Regions from separate parts of the Homo sapiens genome. Here regions 1, 3 and 4 are each linked to region 2. Evidence: promoter capture Hi-C in 16 types of primary human blood cells and fetal thymus (Javierre and others, 2016). All regions are on one chromosome and are shown on one strand. The core of a region is centred on a gene start or on the middle of the fragment in contact, and the rest is flanking DNA. Distances in the headings are between cores, read along the strand shown.

Region 1 (4,975 bases), core at 291-2,790, 2.8 Mb after region 2:
ACAACAACAAGACAAAACTCAGAAAAAGTCCTGGCCTTTGAGTGCAAGATTTAGCTCTGGGCCTCTTGGAAGTGAAGGCGATGGAAAAGTTATGACAATTACCAAAGTTCACCATCTTATAATAGTATACTGATTTCTACTGTTAAATGTAAGAGAAATTTAGTGCACAGGTCTTTATATAAGGGAAGATCCATTTGCTGTGGCTCTTAGAACTGCTGTAGGAAGTGCTATAGTTGTCAATCACATGCCGTTTCTAATAACTGTCAACATTTGCAAACATTTCGCCAAAATATATAGGAATACCAAAATGGCCAGGTAAGTTACATTCCTAGGAGAGGATGAAGTATTCACGTTATGATTAATTGGGTATATTGCTTTAAAAGGTGTAGCCAAAGTTGTTATTCTAAAAAATTCTTTGAGTCAGTTGCCTTGATTTTGCTAAAGCTTTCTAAAGAAAAGGATGTTTTGCATGTATCTTAGTTTGAATTTAATATTCAGTGTTTCAGAAATACACCAAGTACAGTAAGCATGACATGAACAAAGTTCTGGACCTGGAGTTGAAAGGTGACATTGAGAAATGCCTCACAGCTATCGGTATGTAGTCCAGCAGTTGAAAGAGTTTTCTAACTAGAAATTGTATTTTCAAAGCTATCCTATACTTAACAAGAACAACAGCAACAAAACCAATAAAAGAAAACAAAAAACAATCAGAAGTAGTGCATCTGTTTCAATTGAAGCAACGTAAAAGATTGGCAAAGTACTATAACCTTAATAACAATAGATATTATTCCCCTTTTCAAAAATAGAGAGAGATAGACTATACTTATTGAGCACCTACTTATATCAAACAATGTACCAGGCTGGGCACACCACAGAGGCAATTCAGAATGGTCACTGAGAGCATGGGATCTGGAATAAATGTAACATCTGGATAAATGTAACTTCAAGTCCTGGTCTACTGCTTGTTAATTGTACAATCTTGGGCAGGTCCAGGAGAGTCTGATTCAGTGGGTCCGAGTTGGCCTCTAAAAATCGGTACTTTTTAAAGATCTCCCAGGTTATTCAGACAACCATCAGGGTTGGGGAACCTATGTTCTCAAGCAGTGTTTCTCATTCATGACTATGCACTTGAATCCCCTGGAAAGCTTGTTAAAATGCAGATTCTGATTCCCCAGGTCTGGGGTGGAGCTTAGATTCTGCTTTTCTAACAAGCTCCCCATTGATGCCAATGCTGTTGGTCCATAGATCTCGACAAGATGAAGAACACTATGAACTGGAATGTGCTAGTATTATTTGGGTTCTGTTTTATATTTAAGCCCATCCTATCCCAGAGTTTTTTCTTCATTTATTCATTTATTTTTACTTATTTGTTTGTGCAACTCTTACTTTAGACACAGAGGTACATGTGCACGTTTGTTCCATGGGTGTTCTGCACTCAGGCAGTGAGCATAGTACCCAATAAGTAGTTTTTTGACCAATGCCCCTTCTCTCCCTGCCCTCTCTAGTAGTCTGCAGTGTCTGTTGTTCATAGGGTGTTCTTTTTAAATGTTCTTATAGTAACATAAATAAAGTATTTACATAGGCTTGAACACCTAGTGGCTTCTCCACTCCCAAGGAGAATATATGTTGGATAGCGCAAACTACTGAAGTTGCTCTTGAGATGTATTTAAGGTAATAAAAAAATTGATCGTCAGGGAAAAGAATATTCAAAACCACCATCTAGAGAGTCACAAATACCTTCTCAGAAGTTAACTGCCCTATATTGGGAGATGAGAGGTGAAGAATGATGATGAGGGATAGAACACTGTTGGCAAAATTCTATATTTCCTGTTTCTTTCATATGGATATTTCATTTTTTTCATGGTAAATACATCAACTAAAATTTTCTTCTCTAACAGTGAAGTGCGCCACAAGCAAACCAGCTTTCTTTGCAGAGAAGCTTCATCAAGCCATGAAAGTATGTACCATTCTACTTATATGTCCTGCTTAGAGGAAGAATTATTTGTAGAAAGAACAGAAAACCTCATGTTGTTTGAAAATCTCACATTTAATATCTTCCCATTAATGAGAATCATTGTTCTATTTGATGAAAGAGGTAATACACTACCTTCTCAGAATAAACTTCTGTTAGATTCGGTGCTTTTTTTTACAGATGAGATTGTAAAGTGAGCCTGTAAGTGATTTACGGCTCACTTGTGATTTGCTTAAAACATGTGTCACCACGGGAAGGGTGATGTACTTTCTTTTTTAACGTGTAATTTTAGTGGCCTACTTCCTCTAAGGTTGTGAGTTTTATAATCTCCCACTTTATGAGTCTGATTTGTTGTTTTTATTATTCTGTCTTTTATGCCACAGATTAATAGTTGAAACTTTTGAAATGTCATTCTATGATTAAGGATGTAGAATGATGTATTTGAGATCAACTATGTCACTTTAACTTTACTGTCTGACATGCATGGTATTATACAAGGTACCTCTTCTATTCTGACATTTTGAGCCCACAAATGAATAGTTATGAAGTTATCTTCCTTTTTTCTTTGCAGCTCCAAAATAAGGAGGTTTTCAGAGAGAGAGAGAAAGAAAGATCTAACTATTTGAATAATATGAAGGAATATTTTGAATATATATGAATAATTTGAATAATATGAAATGATAGACATGCTAGGTACTGCTCTGTAGTGGTTAGCATAGTTGCTGCCCCCTTTCTGCCATAGTCTAGTGTGATATTTCGTTGGGTAATGATGAATACCTGGTGCCATGGAAGAGAAAAGTGGGACATATACTCCAGACTTTGGAAATCCAGGTAGCATTGCTGTCAGCTAAATTAACACCTGAAGTTTAAATAGAAATGAGCCAGATGAGGGCAAGAGTGGAAGAGATGGGGATAAAGCAAGGGTGGTCCAAGAGGAAGAAGTAACCCACACACAGGCTTGAAGGCAAAAGGTAACATAACCTTCTCAAGACAGTAAGTATAGAGTGATGGTGCACACTGGAAGAGATGGTAGAATTAGGCAGGATATTGTAAGCCTTGAAAAAGAATTAGGCAGGATATCGGAAGCCCTGATTAGATTCTATCCTAAGAGCAACAGAAGATCACTGACAGTGTTTTAAATAGATAGACTAGTTTATTAGATTTGCAGTTTAGAAGTTCCCTTTTTTTGTAATTATTGGACAGTGTAGAGACCGGATGGTGAGAGATGAGTTAGGAAGTTGTGACAGCTCTCTATACCTACCGCTAATGTAGAGGATTATTTATTTTCATTTCATTACCATTCGTGTAAGGTGTGTGTGTGTGTGTGTGTGTGTGTGTGTGTATAGCTAGTTTCTCTATAGAAATTATATGGAAGAGTAAGAAGGCTTCACTTTAAAATTCATGTTTTTAATGAGAGTATTTTCTGAATATGAGACACTTACCCTCATTTATTTTGGCCAGGGTGTTGGAACTCGCCATAAGGCATTGATCAGGATTATGGTTTCCCGTTCTGAAATTGACATGAATGATATCAAAGCATTCTATCAGAAGATGTATGGTATCTCCCTTTGCCAAGCCATCCTGGTATGTTTTGATTCCTCTAATGCCATCCCAACAAATGAAAGTTCTTTTTGCAAGATCTTCAAGGAGAAGAGTTGACTTATTGTATCTATAAATTTAATATGTAAGATTAATTTAATATATTATGGTGTATACTTCATGAGTAAATTGAACTTTCACTGGTAAAATCTACTAGTGAGTTCTCTACTGAAATACTGGGTACATTTTTCAACTAAAGTCATGGAAACATTTAGTTTCCCATGCATAAATTCAGCAAGCAGAATATTCTAGTGTTCCCCCTAGGGTAGATAGACATTGTGGTTTATTTTGCCATTAATATTTGTCAGAGGATTAGAAACTCCTTATTCAAAATATTTATCTTAATTCTATCACATGTAAAATGTTTAAAATTTATGTTCAAATTGTCTCATAAGAATGTTAAAAAATAAGACAAAGAACAGTCAAGGGTTTTGGACTTACTGAAAGGTAGATAACGATTCAAATTTAATTAATTAGTCATATTGGATAACTAAAATCTACCCAGAAAATGTGAGAAAATTACAGGCACTATACATTTCTCTTCTTCTGGTGAGTGAATCAGGTATCTCCTCACATAAGATATGAGATTATATTGTGTTATACTTATTTAATTTTGTGTGATATTTCATTCATAGAAAATAATGGCACTAATATAAAACATAATTAATTCAGAAAAGTTTGTAATCTCAGTCTTGAAGGCTATTGCTTTTTTATGCAATGATAAAAAATCAGTTATCTGTTGTATATATTGTTTAATTAAGTGAATGGTAATGTGTAATCTCATCTACAGCTAAGTCTAAAAATAATTCTTCTATAAGTAAAAAAAAATAGAGAATTATGGTTTCGACTAACATTAAGTATACCTTTTTTTGAATCAACAGGATGAAACCAAAGGAGATTATGAGAAAATCCTGGTGGCTCTTTGTGGAGGAAACTAAACATTCCCTTGATGGTCTCAAGCTATGATCAGAAGACTTTAATTATATATTTTCATCCTATAAGCTTAAATAGGAAAGTTTCTTCAACAGGATTACAGTGTAGCTACCTACATGCTGAAAAATATAGCCTTTAAATCATTTTTATATTATAACTCTGTATAATAGAGATAAGTCCATTTTTTAAAAATGTTTTCCCCAAACCATAAAACCCTATACAAGTTGTTCTAGTAACAATACATGAGAAAGATGTCTATGTAGCTGAAAATAAAATGACGTCACAAGACAATTGGTGTGTCATTGACTCTTCTATTTTGATTTTCTTTTCTGTGTAATTCAGTGGTTTAATTTGACATTAAGGGATACAAGCCTGAATTCTAGATTATAATTATTTAATGAAATAGAGTTCACATTCTGAATTGAAGAAAATACTTATAGCTTTTGAAAAGGGATACTACATTTTATCGTA
Region 2 (4,680 bases), core at 19-2,518:
GCGCGGACAAACTTGGCGGTGGCTGCGGAGGTTCGGCTCGCCCTGCCCTGGCCTCGGACGACGAGCGCGGCGCGGCGCGGCACGGCGCGGCGGCCAAGGGGGCGGGGGCGCGGGGCGCTTCCGACTCGCAGGAGCGCCGAGGCGACCTCAGCCCCTCATCTTTACGTAACCGGCAGCGCCTCCGCACGCAGCATCCACGGCCCCGGGCTCCGCCGCGCCGCCGCCTCTAGCCGCCGCCCCTGCCCCGCGCCGGCCGCGATCCCCCGACGGGCGCGCCGGCCCCTCTGAGCCGGCTCCCTTGGAAAGATGCCACACGTGGCGGTCGCAAGTTTATTCGACTGAAAACGCCCCCGAGGCGCTGGGAGAGGAAACTGCAAGAGAGGTGCACGCCCTCGGCCGCCTCGCCGTCGAGCCAAAGCCCCAGGACATTCACCCGATCACCCCGACGCGGGTGGCGAGGGTCCCGCCGAGCGCCAGGTCTAAGAGACACTTTTTCCCGAGTCCACTGACGGCTTCTGAACCCCTGCTCCGGCCGGTCCGCACCGTTCCGGCATTCTCTTGCTCAGTAACAATTTCGCAGAATCCCATCACGTCACAAACCAAACCCCCTCCAATTGGCCAGTGGGGAGGGTGATTCAACTCTGTTTACTTTCTCCCCCTGCCAGTCAGAACGGCCTTCGGTGGAGAGGTGCGTCTAGAACTGAGGCGTGCGGCCAATCCGACTGTTCCGTTTCGCTGCCTCGTGCTACCCCTACAGCCTCGAACACTGACATTTAAAAGGGTAACAGCTGGGAGGCAGGGAAGGGGCAGCCGCACACTTTCGGAGTGCCTCGCGGTCCCGTGGCCGGTCCGGGCCTCCTGGCTCACGTTCCAGCTTGCGGAGCTTTGGGACACATCTTTCCTAGTCAGTTGCGCTCGTTCCTATGGCAAAAGAGAACTTCAGCTTCGGTTTTCCAGCTCCCAAACAGTTAAGTGACTTCCTGCAAACGCTACAGTCCCAGCAACCAGCCTTCCAATCAAAAGTAAGTTGGTTGATGTCACTGGCATTGGCTCGGCCAATCACAAGGGCGTTCCGAAAGCAAGCGCTCGACACTTGTAAACGCGAAGAGCTGTAGTGAAACTGGACACATCTTTGTATTTTGTGTTGCTGGTAGTAAATTTGAGTTATGGATGAGAGGACAGGGGTGATGAATAAATGCAGTGTGAATCTATAATTAAAAAAACCCCATTATGTCAGGATAAGTCCAAGAATAAACACAAATGAGTAAGAATTCGTTTTGTTATATATTTTTTGGATGCAGCATACTTTGGGGCAGATGTTTAAAAATTCTTCCATCCAATACATTAACTATGACCAATTCATCTTAAAAATGCAGTGCTAACAAAAGTTCTGGTTTTACAGCATAGCCTTTTTACTGCCTGAGATTCTTCCATTGAAACATCCCATCTTTGCTTGTCATATCTCTTAATTCCTCTACTTCTCTGGTGCAATTTAGTCTAAATAAATTCTTTTAGCTTTATTTGGAGGCTATTTTTAACCCACTTTCAGAAAAACGGAGACAAAAACCATTCATTTGTGTAACTTTTATAAAAAACCCACCATTCTTAGCTCTTTTTCTTTCCAGAGCCCCTGCATGGTTTTTAGGACATGTTTCTCTTCCCTCACTTCACAAATGTGGAAACTGAGTTACAGAGAAGTGACTTATTTATCTTATTAGACAGATAATGATAGAACTCAATAGAAACCACAAGTCTCCTGATTTCTAGCTCTTTGTGCTTGCAACTAAGCCCTTTTGGTTTTGTGAAATATTAACTGTGCAGAACAGATTTTTAGGGACTGGAACAAGCTGGAAATCCTTAGCCATGGAATACTGTGGCATTACTTGGTCAACAATTAGTATGGGTCTTGGAGTCTGATTAACTTGGTTTACCCCTCCGTCTGAATTAACGATGTGGTTGTTTTCCATCTTGATAGCTAGAAAAGAATCTAGGGCTAGTTCTTTTTGCAAGAGGCATACTGTCAGCACAATTCATTAAAAATAATTCACTTTCGTGAATGTGAGAGGTACCTGATTCTATGTGATGCAGATTCGGTGAGTTCCAACCCTGACCCCCCACTGGCTATTAACCTTTGTTAAGAGAAAGTTACACCAGGTTCTGGTCTCCGAGGCAAGGGTCTCAAATTGACTCTACCAATGTGAGATCTACAGTAGTTTCTTTTGACTTTGTTTTTAAAGTGGTACATCAAAAATAATAATAATAAAAAAAAAGTTAGCCAGGCGTGGTGGCTCGCACCTGTAGTCCCAGCTACTCAGGAGGCTGAGGCTGAAGGACTGCGTCAGCCTAGGTCAAGGCTGCAGTGAGCCCTGATTACACCACTGTACTACTCCAGCCTGGGCAACAGAGCAAGGCCCTGTTTTTTTTGTTTTTTTTTAAATCATAACTAAGGGTGGCTCAGGTAAGTAAGAGTATAATAGATTTTAATTAAAAAATAACAAACCTGACAAGACCAGTTCAATAAAAGTGTACAGCTTAAAAAAATAAAGAAAACAACAACAAAAATATTAAAGTGGTACAGGGAAGATATTGCAGTAGGTGACTGCAGGTGGAAGAAAGGTGTAGATAGGGGATACTGGGCAACCAAGAATATCATCACCATCAGCATCATTATCACCGACCCCTTTCATGGAGGGCTTACTCTGTGTCAGGCCCTGTACCAAGCACCCTGCATGCATCCCTGTAAGGTAGGTATACAGTGTATAAAAAACTCCAAGCCATCTTGGAGTTCTTGCATTTTTAGAACTTAATCTCTTAATTTTAGAAAAGAATTCACTGAAGCCCAGGGGAGTTTGCCTACTTCATGATTTTTCTGGGACAAATTTTGTCCCCTAGGATACACGATCACTTAGAAATTGCACCTTTGCCTGCCTCAAGGCCCAGTGCATATACCAGCGGGATCTCTCCAGGATCTCTATGATCATGGCCTGTACAACCCCTCAGACTTGCATTTTAACTGGGATTGTACTGGTGAAACAGACTGCTCGGGCCTGGACATCTATAGACAGCCCTAGGACCACCATCATCATTATTCCAGAATAGAGGAAAAGTCTGTATCTTTCCTTGAAGATTATATAATCCAGGAATTTGAATACATCAGTCACTTTAGGTTTTTTAAAAATATAAACTTTTCCCTTCCTTACTCCTTGCCAGCTTTTCTTTAATTCCCTTTAATTTCACTTTGTTTGAACTGGACATAAACACTGAATTCTCCAAACTCACTCATTTCAGAGTTACAAAAGAAAGTAATGAAAGAAAACTGAGATTTCATCTACATGAATTTCTCACACATTTACAAACATAACTGCTGCTTGACTTGATTTAGAATATCTTTTTAAACCCAGCAATTCTAGAACTGTAGAATGCTTTCTCTTTTTTCTCCTTTTCCACTCATTCATTCTCCAGATATTTATGTTCCTGGCAATGAGCTAGGCATGGGGGAATACAGAAATGAAAAGAGACTCTGTCCTCCATGAAGTTTATATGTTAAAAACGTATATATAAAATAACATATCAGCAAATAATTATTTCTATGTCAGGATTTTTTTCTTCTATTTTCAACAGTGAAGTTTCCTTGGGGGTGTTGGAATGCGTATTATAATAGTTTTATGATTAAAACCGGCTTGGGCTGTTTTGCCAGCATGTGGTTGTCCCAATTAAATGTTGGCAAAATAAATGATCCCAAATTAATATGAATCATTCCTAATTAAAATAATTTATCACTAAAGTATATATTATGCCACATAAATGTAAGAGGGCTGTTTTCCCCCAAGTTAGTCTTTGTAAATACACATTTTCAAAATCCAAACAAACCAACCGGAAGGAGCATGAAAATTCAGACTGTAAGTGTGCTTCTAGTTTATGCTTTCCTCTCTAAATTCTGCCTAAGAATTTGCTTTATTATCAAAGTTCTCAAAACAATGGCTTATGGGCCTGTAGCCAGAACATATCAGCCTTGTTTTCTGTGCATCCTAAAATAATTACAGTATTATCATTATTAGCTCTAATAAGAAGTAGTGCCTACAGTCAGCTGTTTCAGCGTTGTAGACCACTGTGAGGAGCTGGCCTTTGGGTCTGAGATAAACTCTAACCTCAGACAATCTCTGGGAGCTATTTCCTTATCTGTAAATTGATGAGATTAGATTAATAAATCTCCAATAGTTCCTCCCAAACTCCAAACACTCAAGGGATCTAAAACAAAAGAAAAAAAATCCTAGAGAAAAAAACTGGGGCAAGACTTGGGTTCTTTAAATACCATCTCATCTGCTGTACATCTACAAATACTGCTCTTTATGGCAGTGAAGGTCAGAAAACCTTAAATCAACATTTAATGGGTAGCAGACACAAATATAAATGTGTTCAAAATCCCTTCCTTAATTTTATAGTCTCGATTTTTCTTTCTTCAAGCTGGTTTGTAGAAAGTGGAATGGGGGTTCAAATAACCTATTCTTTTTCCGTGGTAAATTGTATTATTTTATTTATTTATTTATTTTTGAGACAGTCTCGCTCTGTCGCCCAGGCTGGAGTGCAATGGCACGATCTCGGTTCACTGCAACAACCCCCGCCTCCAGGGTTCAAGCGATTCTCCTGCCTCAGCCTCCCCAGTAGCTGGGATTACAGGCA
Region 3 (4,661 bases), core at 1,778-4,277, 2.7 Mb after region 2:
ATCAACTTTAACATTTTACTATATGGTAGAATGTCATTCAATGAGTCATTATATTAATTAGATTTGGAAATATAAAATTATGTACAATCAGATTTAACAAAGTAGACTAAAATATGGGTCTTATTATTAGTCCTTTATGGAAGCAAAGAGGTTCTGCCACTTGTGTGATTGTTTACTGCATTTTTTTCTTACATATAGACAACAATTCTCAAAGTTGGCTATGCATTTTGTTTTTTAGGACTGTGATGGAAATCCCTGTGTGTGCAGTTAAGAAAACAGAATTTAATATATATTAAACTAAGCAGAGGCTTTAATAGTAATCAATCAACTAAGTGTTCTTTTTATTCTTCCAGTATCCTAGACTTTCCTTATCCTCGGTTAATGTTGTACCTGGTGGTCTAAATTGATCATTCTGTGGGGGACACATTTCCTCAGCCTTGAAGGAACTGTGCTCTTGGTACCCTGCCCTCATCCTACTACAGCTGCTGTATTTACTCATTCACTTTTATCAGCAGGTGGAGAAACGTCAAGATGTATCCAAATGATCTTCCCGGGTCCATAGTTGATACTCTATTATATAAAAGCTATCCTGGGTAAACTTTTTAGAGCAGCCTACATTGACCAAGTATGAGTGGCAATTTCAGGTTCCTTTTCTGGAAAAAACAGGATGTCTAATGGAGCAAAAGCTAAAATTGTGAGGACAGAAATCAGGTGTTCTGCAAATGGTTTCCTGGCAATGAAGGCTTAGGGCCAGAGAAGACACCATGGGTGCTCTTCCCTCTGATGGCTCTTTCACTACATTCATAGCTGCCTCAGTGTGCTCTCAGTCCCATGAGACAGCACCCTGTGATTATCAGTGGCTGCTGTATTAGTTTGCTAGGGGTGTCTTTAAGACTGGGTGTCTTAAACAATAAACATTTATTTTCTCAAGGTCCAGAAGCCAGAAATGTAAGATTAAAGCATCAGCAGGTTTGGTTTTTCTGAGAAAACTCTCTCACGTGGTATGGCAAGGAGAGAGGCCATTTCTCTTTAAAGGCCCTATCTCCAAAACAAGTCACATTCTGATGTACTGTGGGTTAGGACCTTAACTTATGAATCTGGGTGAGGGACCTGCAATTCAGGCTGTCACAACCACTTTATCTGCACAAAAGGGAACTAAATATGCCTGGAAATTTACATTCCCTCAGTCATAGCTCTAAATCAATGACTGGTAGGTGCACAGGTAAGACTTTACCTCTATTGACCAATTCAGAGTTGAGATCTATACTGTGCCCAGAAATGCATGGCAGGCTTGAACAAAAGATGTACTTCATTGGAAATTGCTTGATAATGCATCCTTTATTGGTCTTCTTCTGTTATTATTCCCATTTCTCTGTAATTTCTTGGGAATATACTCTAATACATAAGTTACACACAAATTTTCATCATAAGATTTGTCTTTCGAATGCTGTTATGGGTTGAATTGTGTCCTTTAAAAATATATCTTAAGGTCCTAACCTGTAAATATGACCTTATTTGGAAATGCAATCATTGTAGATGTAATTAAGGTAGGGTGAGATAATGACACTATGTTAGAGTGGGCCCTAAATCCAATATGAATGGTGCCATTATAAGAAGAGGGAAACTTGGACACAGAGATAGAGACACTCAGGGAGAATGTTATCTGACCACAAGGACACAAAAAGGAGAGTGCCATGTGAAACCAGATGTAAATATTGGAATGGTGCATCTATAAGCCAAGCAATGGCAAAGATTGCCAGCAAACCACCAGAAGGCAGGAGAGAAGCACAGGACATAATTTCGTTTGGAGCACCCAGAGGAAATCAACCCTACCGAGACCTTAATTTGGAACTTCTATCCTCCAGAAGTGTGAGAGACTAAATTTCTGTTGTTATATGCCAGCAAGTTTGTGGTACTTTCTTATAGCAACCCTAGGAAACTAATGAAGAAACGCAACTTGAAAATAGGTTATTTCAGAAGTGGTCCTAGGAAGCATACACTTAGGAAGGGATTCTGAGTTAGATCACTTGCCATCTGGATAACAACTGGATCACACTGTTGGAGATTAAACTGTTAAAAACTGAAAACTCTAGCACTGTCATTGCATAACTTTTGCCAGTGGTGAGTTGGCATGGGATACAGATGAAAGGAGACTACACATGCATTTCAGAGCTATGGGGGGATTTATTAATTATAAGATTTGGAAATTGGTTGGTTGTTGCTAAGTGTCATTGTGCCGAAGAAGAAAATTGACAAGCTCAGGTTTGTCCGTTACTAACCAGGGGCATGGTATGAAAGATTGGAGGACTCCAGGGCAGCATTTAAAGAAACCCATGCTTTCTATAGCTAGAAGACAGATTGAAAGGAAGACTGGATGATAAACTTTACTATAAAAGTAGTAGAAATACAACAAAAGATGAGTTAATAGCCTTGGCAAGGTTTTATGCTAAGTCAGAACCCTGATAGAGATGGTGCAGAGAATTGTAGGTGGATGTGCTCAAAATTATAGAACTCGCAGATTCCTTTGAACCCCTGGGCATATAAGAGTGGCTTATTTAGTTTTGCTGGAACATAGCAGCTTTCTCTTGCTTGAAGGCCACACCAAAACCTCAACCGAGATGGATGCCTTTGACGATGATATTTGTCCTTATCAAGATCTGACTTCACTTTCTCTCCTGTCTTCTAGTTCTGTATCTAAGTCTCAGCATGGGCCAACCAGGGAAGGGAAAAAATTACTCTCCAAAAGAACATCAAGACGTGATTAATTTGCAGCAAAAGGAATCAGGACAGCATGCCAGGAAGTATATCTTGATAGCGCTGGATTGGGGTGAGAGCTGGGGATAGTGAGAGAGAAGCTTGATAAAGGAACATTTGTCAACAAGGGAACATTCTTCCATGACTGAAAACTCCCTAACAAGAGCACCTGGGAATGGTTCTAATACGCTGCTTGGATGGTTACTAAAAGTTCTGTAGGGGGAAGAAAAAGGCTCACATTAAATTAAGCAGAGATGACAGAACTGCTTTAGCAGAGTTTTGAGGAAGGGCTCAAAAGGCTCAGAGAAGTGAGCATGCTAGAATGATTCTATTGTGTAACACCAGAGAGACTACCAGCTGATTATGTTCATTGAAGGGCCAGAGAACATTCTCATCACAAAGCTGATAAGGAATGTGCTATTGATGGAGGGATTGGCATATTTGAGAAGCTTAGTGATAGCTGGACCGAAGTTGACAGTAGGCAATACTGTTAGAGAACTGGGCTCCCTAGTGTCAATGGAAATGATTATATTCCAGAATATCAGGGGTCAAGTGCAATATAGTCAACCACTAGAGATCTATGGTGATGGCTGATATCCCAAGGTGTTTATCGAGAAAAAATAGATGGATAGACAACAAGAGCGTGGTTGGCTATACATAATCAAGGATGATTAAAACTGGATGAGCAATTGGAAGCCTCATGTCATCAATGCCCACGGAATATTACTTCTTGACCCAGTTTAAAAACCTGCACCAATTCTCAGACCCACAGAAGGAAGCTGCAATGCCACAAGCATACACAGCAGAGATTTCTGTGCATACAGTTGTATACATTTTAAAAATAATCCACTTATAATTTGAATTACAACCAGGGAGTCCACTATGCATATTCTAGTCTCTTTATCTTGGGTAATGATGCTTCTCGTCTCTGGAATACCCTTTGGCACCTTCTCTATGTGAGTGCTATTTCATGTTTTAAGGCTTACAGTAACCTTTCTCGATGACCTCTATCTCTTAGTAGAAATCACGTTCTCCAAACAGCTATCTTGTTCATTTAACATTTACTATATTCAGTTTTGAATGGTTGTTAAAATTTTTATGTAAATAAAAGTTTTTTGGAATTGTCCATTTGATATATTTAATTTATTCCATTTATTAAACTTGAAGTAGACCTTCGAGAATCAATTATTATTGATTCTCAAAATGCAAATATTATTATAGTTATCCCTTTATCCTAGATTGTTAATTGGTTGAATTATTTGAAATCCTTGAGATAAACTAAAATAGACAGGAATACTTAATACAGAATGATTAACTTGGGTAGATAGACAGATTAAACTTAGCTTTTGTTTAAAAGCTGGAATTCTAAGTAGTCAACATCAGATGAGTCAAATGAAAATTGATACCCATTGTAGAACTAATGAATGGTCTTGCAGTTTAAGTCCTTTCTTAACTCTGTCATCTTTTACTTTGTAATGACTAAAAAGCTACAATTACTATCACAGGAGTCTTCAGTATGTTACCATGCCAAAACTGGGAAATGTGGCTGGCTGTTTCCTAATGGAAAATTGTTAGCTTCTTGGCGACATGAAGAAAAGGATGTTGGGATTGCCCTTTCAGACATCAAAATTCATTACAAAACTTTAGAAATTAAGATACTGTGGTACCGGGAACGAGAAAGATCAAAAAATAGACGGAAGAGAACAGAGAAAATTGAAAGACATATCTATATGTCTATATCTGCACATACAAATATGCATATGCAATCACACATAGTTGATAAATCTCACAAGAAATAAAATTTAAAAGAAAGAATCAAAGTGAATATGGTGTTAGTAAAAAAAAAAGGCTATGAATTTTTGAATACTTTTTCCCAAGGTGGTGACATTCCAGCATATACTACAAAC
Region 4 (4,881 bases), core at 645-3,144, 2.5 Mb after region 2:
GTTCTAGGATCTGACAGGAAAGCAGTGTGAAACAGGCAAAGTTCAGAGTTACTCTCAGAACGACTCAAGCAGGATCCATTTCCTAGTTCCCCCCAGCTGCGGATTTTAAAGTCTGGATCTAGCTCCTGCTCTTGTTTCTCTAAATATTTATCAGTTAACAATTACACATCTGCTCCAATGGCAACAAACTTGGCTGAAGAAATAATGCTTTTCTTCCTCCCACCAAAATATGCAAAATAATGCAAGTCCATCTGAAGATTTTCGAATCCAATTATCAGACTTAAGTCCCCCTATTTTAACACTCATTTTATTAAACATATTGGAAAGTTATGTTATTTCAGTATGCTCTCTTTCTCCTTGTTTGCTTTCTATTGTTCCTACTCGTTTGGTTCTTTCCAGTAAGCTTCTCTAGTGAGTATTTTGCTCTCTTATCATACATGCCGGCTATAGTGAAGTTAATAGAAGTGCTTAGTAAAGTCCTCTGAATCCTGGTATAAGAATCCTTTCACACAGAAGAGAATTCCTTTCGCTTGGAAATATTTTAAGAAATAAATTTATGAAAGATTGTCTGATATGATTTAGATCATATTTGATCAGGACACTAAACTGAGACCTGCATTTTGCATGCCTTTTATTTTTATATTTGCAAAGGGCTCTTTACACAAGTTTACTTAAATTGACCTTTAATGCTTTACATAAATGCAGTTTTTGCAAACCCGAGTCAAAGCAGAAAATAGAAGTTTTACTCACCTTAGTATATTGAATCTTCAAATCGGTGAGTAGGACAGGTAAGTCTGGCGTGCCTGAGGATGACATTTCTGATTCGGCTCCTGGAACACAGGTGACTGGCTCAGCAATTTGGTTCTGATAGAGCACTTGGCTTTATTTGTTCCTTTTTTATCTGCACGGGCTAAAGTTTATTTGCATACTCGGATACGATTGGATGAACAAACTCAGAGCAAAAAAAGAAAACGACACTACTTATTTGTAACACCTAGGGCAGGAAGCCTTTGACTTTAAACTTAAATCCTTAAGAAACCAGTGCTCCAGCATCGAATTTGTACCTGGAGACAGTGCACTATTTGCAGATGAATTAATTTACAAAGCCGAAACCTGTGATAAGTGTATGCAGCAGCTGCTCTGGCCACTAAGGCCAGTTATTATTTTTTTGACTTCTCATGCTTTTTAATGCTACTATGTAACTTTCTGTTCTCTGACAGACTTGGAATCAGAGAATTTGAGGATTGAAAAGAGTCTAAAAGGGCACTTGTTCTCAGTAGAAGCTGGCCAGGTGTCTTCAGGACAAGGCTTTCAGGAAATCAGTCCATCTCCCAGAAAATCAAGGTGCTGTTTGGGGAAGAAAGGCCCTTTATCTACACCCTACCCTAAGTTAGTTTTAAAATATCGTATCAGTCTTGTGTATTTTCAGTGCTGGGTAAGTAGACCTACTGTGATCTCAGAAGCCCTAAATTATCTTTATTTTCTATATGTGAACAGAAAAGCCAGCAGGACTTTTAGGGAATTCGGAACACACTGTCACACACAATCACCACAATTAGAAATATGGCAATATCATCTATTAATACTCATTTAAAATGAAAGTAATCCTGGTTTTGGAAGTTGTCTGTATTTATCAACATAGGCAGTGTACAAAGACTAAATTTAAGCAGGGCTTCCAAACAATTCAAGTTCTTAAATTAATATTTAGCTGAAGGACAATTTTTTAAACAGTGTTACTCCCATTTTAAGTACAATACTTTATTGTATTGTAGCTCTAGCAAACGTTACAATAGGAACAAGATAAAATACTCTGGATGCTCTGATTGTGGAGAATCAACCAATTTTTTTTTTTCTAGTGAAACTTGCCAATTCCCCTGAATATGGGACTTACATAGGGAAACTAAAAATTTCTGAATTGTTTGCCCAAATCAGGTGCAGCACTTGTTTCCCTTTCTACCCTCATTTCATATCCCCATTTTAGAGACATACAGAGGGTGAGTAGCTTACTTATGGTCACAGATCTATTAGTGCAGGACCAGAATTTCATTTCAGGCCAGTCTGACTCCCAAACCTGGACTCTTATTTCTGTTTACTATTTCTACCCTATTCTCCACAAGAGAACTCCTACATGGGTTCAAGCATCAACTGCTTTGGTTTTCTCAGTGAATAGTCACCCTTACAGGCATTTAAACATAACTTTTTATTCATCTAAGACAAGAATTTGCAAAACTTTTTCTGTAAATATTTTCAGCCTCTGGGCTGGATGGTTTCTGATATAATTTACTTGACTCTATTTAAAAGAAACTGTAGATGATAGGTAAATTAATGGGTGTAGTTGTTTTCCTATAGAACTTTATTTAAAAAGACAGAAGGCAGGCCAGATTTGGTGCACGGGCCAACTCCCTAGATTCTAAGGCAATATCATTCCCAATGCCTTTGACTCCCCCGTGTCTTATGTTTGATGACCAGATAGAAACTTCTGTGTTCTTTCAACATTTCTCTGTTTCTTTCTTTTTGGAAAGTCTAATTGTTTTCTCTCTCAAAAATGTGTTTTGAGTTAAATGCACAATTACACAACAGCTGTTACATAACTTGAGAGTGGCGCTCTGGCCATGCCCAAACAGCTGTGTTTTGCTGCTTTCTTCTCCCAGAGTCACAGTTGTTTGTGGATTCAAATACTGGTTTATTTGATGTCCAGGCGATGAAAGCTCAAGGCTTCATAACATACTTGGCTTGTCATCTCACTTCTTATATGATCATTCTCAATTGTATTTTATTGGATAATTATGTAAGAACAGTCCCTTTATACCAGGCATTCCTGAATGTAGGCAAAAGGAGTTGCTTTGGAGACAGGTTACCACACCTGCCCATTTAATTTCAGCAAATATTTACTAAGTATCATTTATGCATCCATAATTCTTTAGCCCTAACCTCACTTAAGCAGATCTTTTCTGCCTAGAAACCACAGGGCCTGAGACCTATATTTTTGAGGTAAACATCATCCTGCCCTGAGAGCTTATTTTGTAGAATAGCATATTTCTGGGAATTGCTGCATATGAGGAAAAGATTTCATCAGACTACTTCTATTCCTTACAGAGGAAATAATGGCTTTTGTGAGAACCTAGGGACCAAGGTTGCACATTTTAGAACTGGACCCAGGATTGTACGTTTTTATGGTATGCCAGGACTATGCAGCAGAGGAGGAGCTGTCCCTTTAACTTGAGAGTAATCGACAAATGATGTTTCATCTTCTTTTTCCTCCTTATGAACAAACTAAATCACACACACACACACACACAGGCACACACACATATGGAGAGAGAAGCAAGAAACATAAGAGGATAGTTTATTCATCTCTTGAATTTGACTTCTCCAGCCATTTGTGAAAGCTTTCATTATACCAAGAAACATATAGATTATGACTTCAACCATTCTTGAAACTACTCTTTCATTTTACAACAAACATCTCCAGAACTCCGTCCAATCCTCAGTTCCTGAAAAGATAAAAGGAACCTAATCTGCCACCCAGGACTTAAAATTTTTAAAAAAATGTTGAAAAAAGTCATATGATGAATTAAAAATAGCTTCTGCAATGGACTGAATTTTTTTTGTCCAGTCACAATGGATATGTTGAAATCCTAACCCCCCATGTGATGGTATTAGGAGATGGAGCCTTTGGGAGGTGTATTAGTCCATTCCCATGCTACTAATAAAGACATACTTGAGACTGGGTAATTTATAAAGGAAAGAGGTTTAATTGACTCACAGTTCAGCATGGCTGGGGAGGCCTTAGGAAACTTACAATCACAGTGGAAGGGGAAGCAAACACGTCCTTCTTCACATGGTGGCAGCAAGGAGAAGTGCTCAGCAAAAGGGGGAAAACCCCCTTATAAAACCATCAGATCTCATGAGAATTCACTTATTATCATGAGAACAGGATGACGGTAACCCCCCTCCATGATTAAAGTACATCCCACCGGATCCCTCCCATGACATGTGGGGATTATGGGAACTACAATTCAAGGTGAGATTTGGGTGGGAACACAGAGCCAAATCATATTAGGAGGTAATGAGGTTATGAGGGTAGGACCCTCATGAATGGATCAGTGCTTTTATAAAAGGGACTCCAGAGAGATCTCTCGCTGTTTCTGCCATGTGTGGATGCAATGAGACATTGGCAATCTGTAACCCAAAAGAGGGCTCTCACCAGAACCCAACTATGTTGGCACCCTAATTTCAGACTTCAAGCTTCCAGAACTGTGAGAAATTAATTTTTGTTATAGCAGCCTGAATGAACTAAGACAGTTTCTTTTCATATTTCCTGATTTCAAGATGCTGGAACCATTTATTGAAGATGAACCTCTCCTACTCCAGTTACATGACCACTCCCCTAACTATTCTCTGTTGCCTTAGCATGTCTGCCTGTTGGTAAACCTAGCAAGAAATCTATCCCTATGCTTTTGATTACTACATTTTTATCAGATACCACATTGCTCTTATGCTTATTTGAGTTTTAATAATTTGGGAAAAGTGGATCTTGTATGTAGTGAGAGAGTCTGTACTTAGTTGACAAGTTGATGTTAAAAATGGAAGTGGAAGGCAGAATTCAAGTATATGAACATATGTATTTGTTGACTAATTTCTGTTCACATGCCATTCTTCTTCAATTGGAAAAATTTCCTCACCTCTGATTTCTCCTGCTCTTTACATATCTTTTCATTGTTCTTCTCTTTGGCTTGTGTTACTGAGATAGGATAGATGCCCCTCTAATCTGGTCTAACCAGGACACTAACTGATTAGTAAGGTCACTAAAAGAAACAGTACATTAAAGCCTCTGTAAGATAATTATTTGAGTTTAAATAGGTTTTTGCTAAACCTTAT

What was found. The method cuts DNA at HindIII sites, captures the fragments that hold promoters and counts their contacts. A CHiCAGO score of 5 or more calls a contact.
Region 1: a contact is called between a fragment that was not itself captured here and the fragment with the promoter of KLF9 in region 2, in 1 of 17 cell types (total CD8 T cells). The highest score is 5.6, in total CD8 T cells.
Region 3: a fragment that was not itself captured here is called in contact with the fragment with the promoter of KLF9 in region 2 in 1 of 17 cell types (activated CD4 T cells); the score reaches 6.1 in activated CD4 T cells.
Region 4: a fragment that was not itself captured here is called in contact with the fragment with the promoter of KLF9 in region 2 in 1 of 17 cell types (M2 macrophages); the score reaches 5.2 in M2 macrophages.

The regions. Positions count from the first base shown.
Region 1 is chr9:73,165,599-73,170,573 of GRCh38, forward strand. ANXA1 (annexin A1) reads left to right here. Exons shown (of 13, transcript NM_000700.3): 10 at 499-594; 11 at 1,899-1,957; 12 at 3,434-3,556; 13 at 4,453-4,795. The coding sequence ends at 4,509. Among named protein-coding and RNA genes, the nearest start is that of ANXA1, 16 kb to the left of the region's middle. The HindIII fragment of the contact is 794 bases long and covers 1,144-1,937 here.
Region 2 is chr9:70,413,389-70,418,068 of GRCh38, forward strand. KLF9 (KLF transcription factor 9) reads right to left here and starts at 1,269. Exons shown (of 2, transcript NM_001206.4): 1 at 1-1,269. It overlaps KLF9-DT (KLF9 divergent transcript), which reads left to right and starts at 802. Exons shown (of 4, transcript XR_001746710.3): 1 at 802-1,022. RefSeq lists enhancers at 1-603, 432-511, 852-981, a silencer at 1-141 and a promoter at 318-1,120. The HindIII fragment of the contact is 11,812 bases long and covers 1-4,680 here.
Region 3 is chr9:73,127,408-73,132,068 of GRCh38, forward strand. No RefSeq gene overlaps it. Among named protein-coding and RNA genes, the nearest start is that of ANXA1, 22 kb to the right of the region's middle. The HindIII fragment of the contact is 348 bases long and covers 2,854-3,201 here.
Region 4 is chr9:72,952,185-72,957,065 of GRCh38, forward strand. It overlaps ALDH1A1 (aldehyde dehydrogenase 1 family member A1), which reads right to left and starts at 869. Exons shown (of 13, transcript NM_000689.5): 1 at 751-869. The coding sequence starts at 816. The HindIII fragment of the contact is 2,986 bases long and covers 402-3,387 here.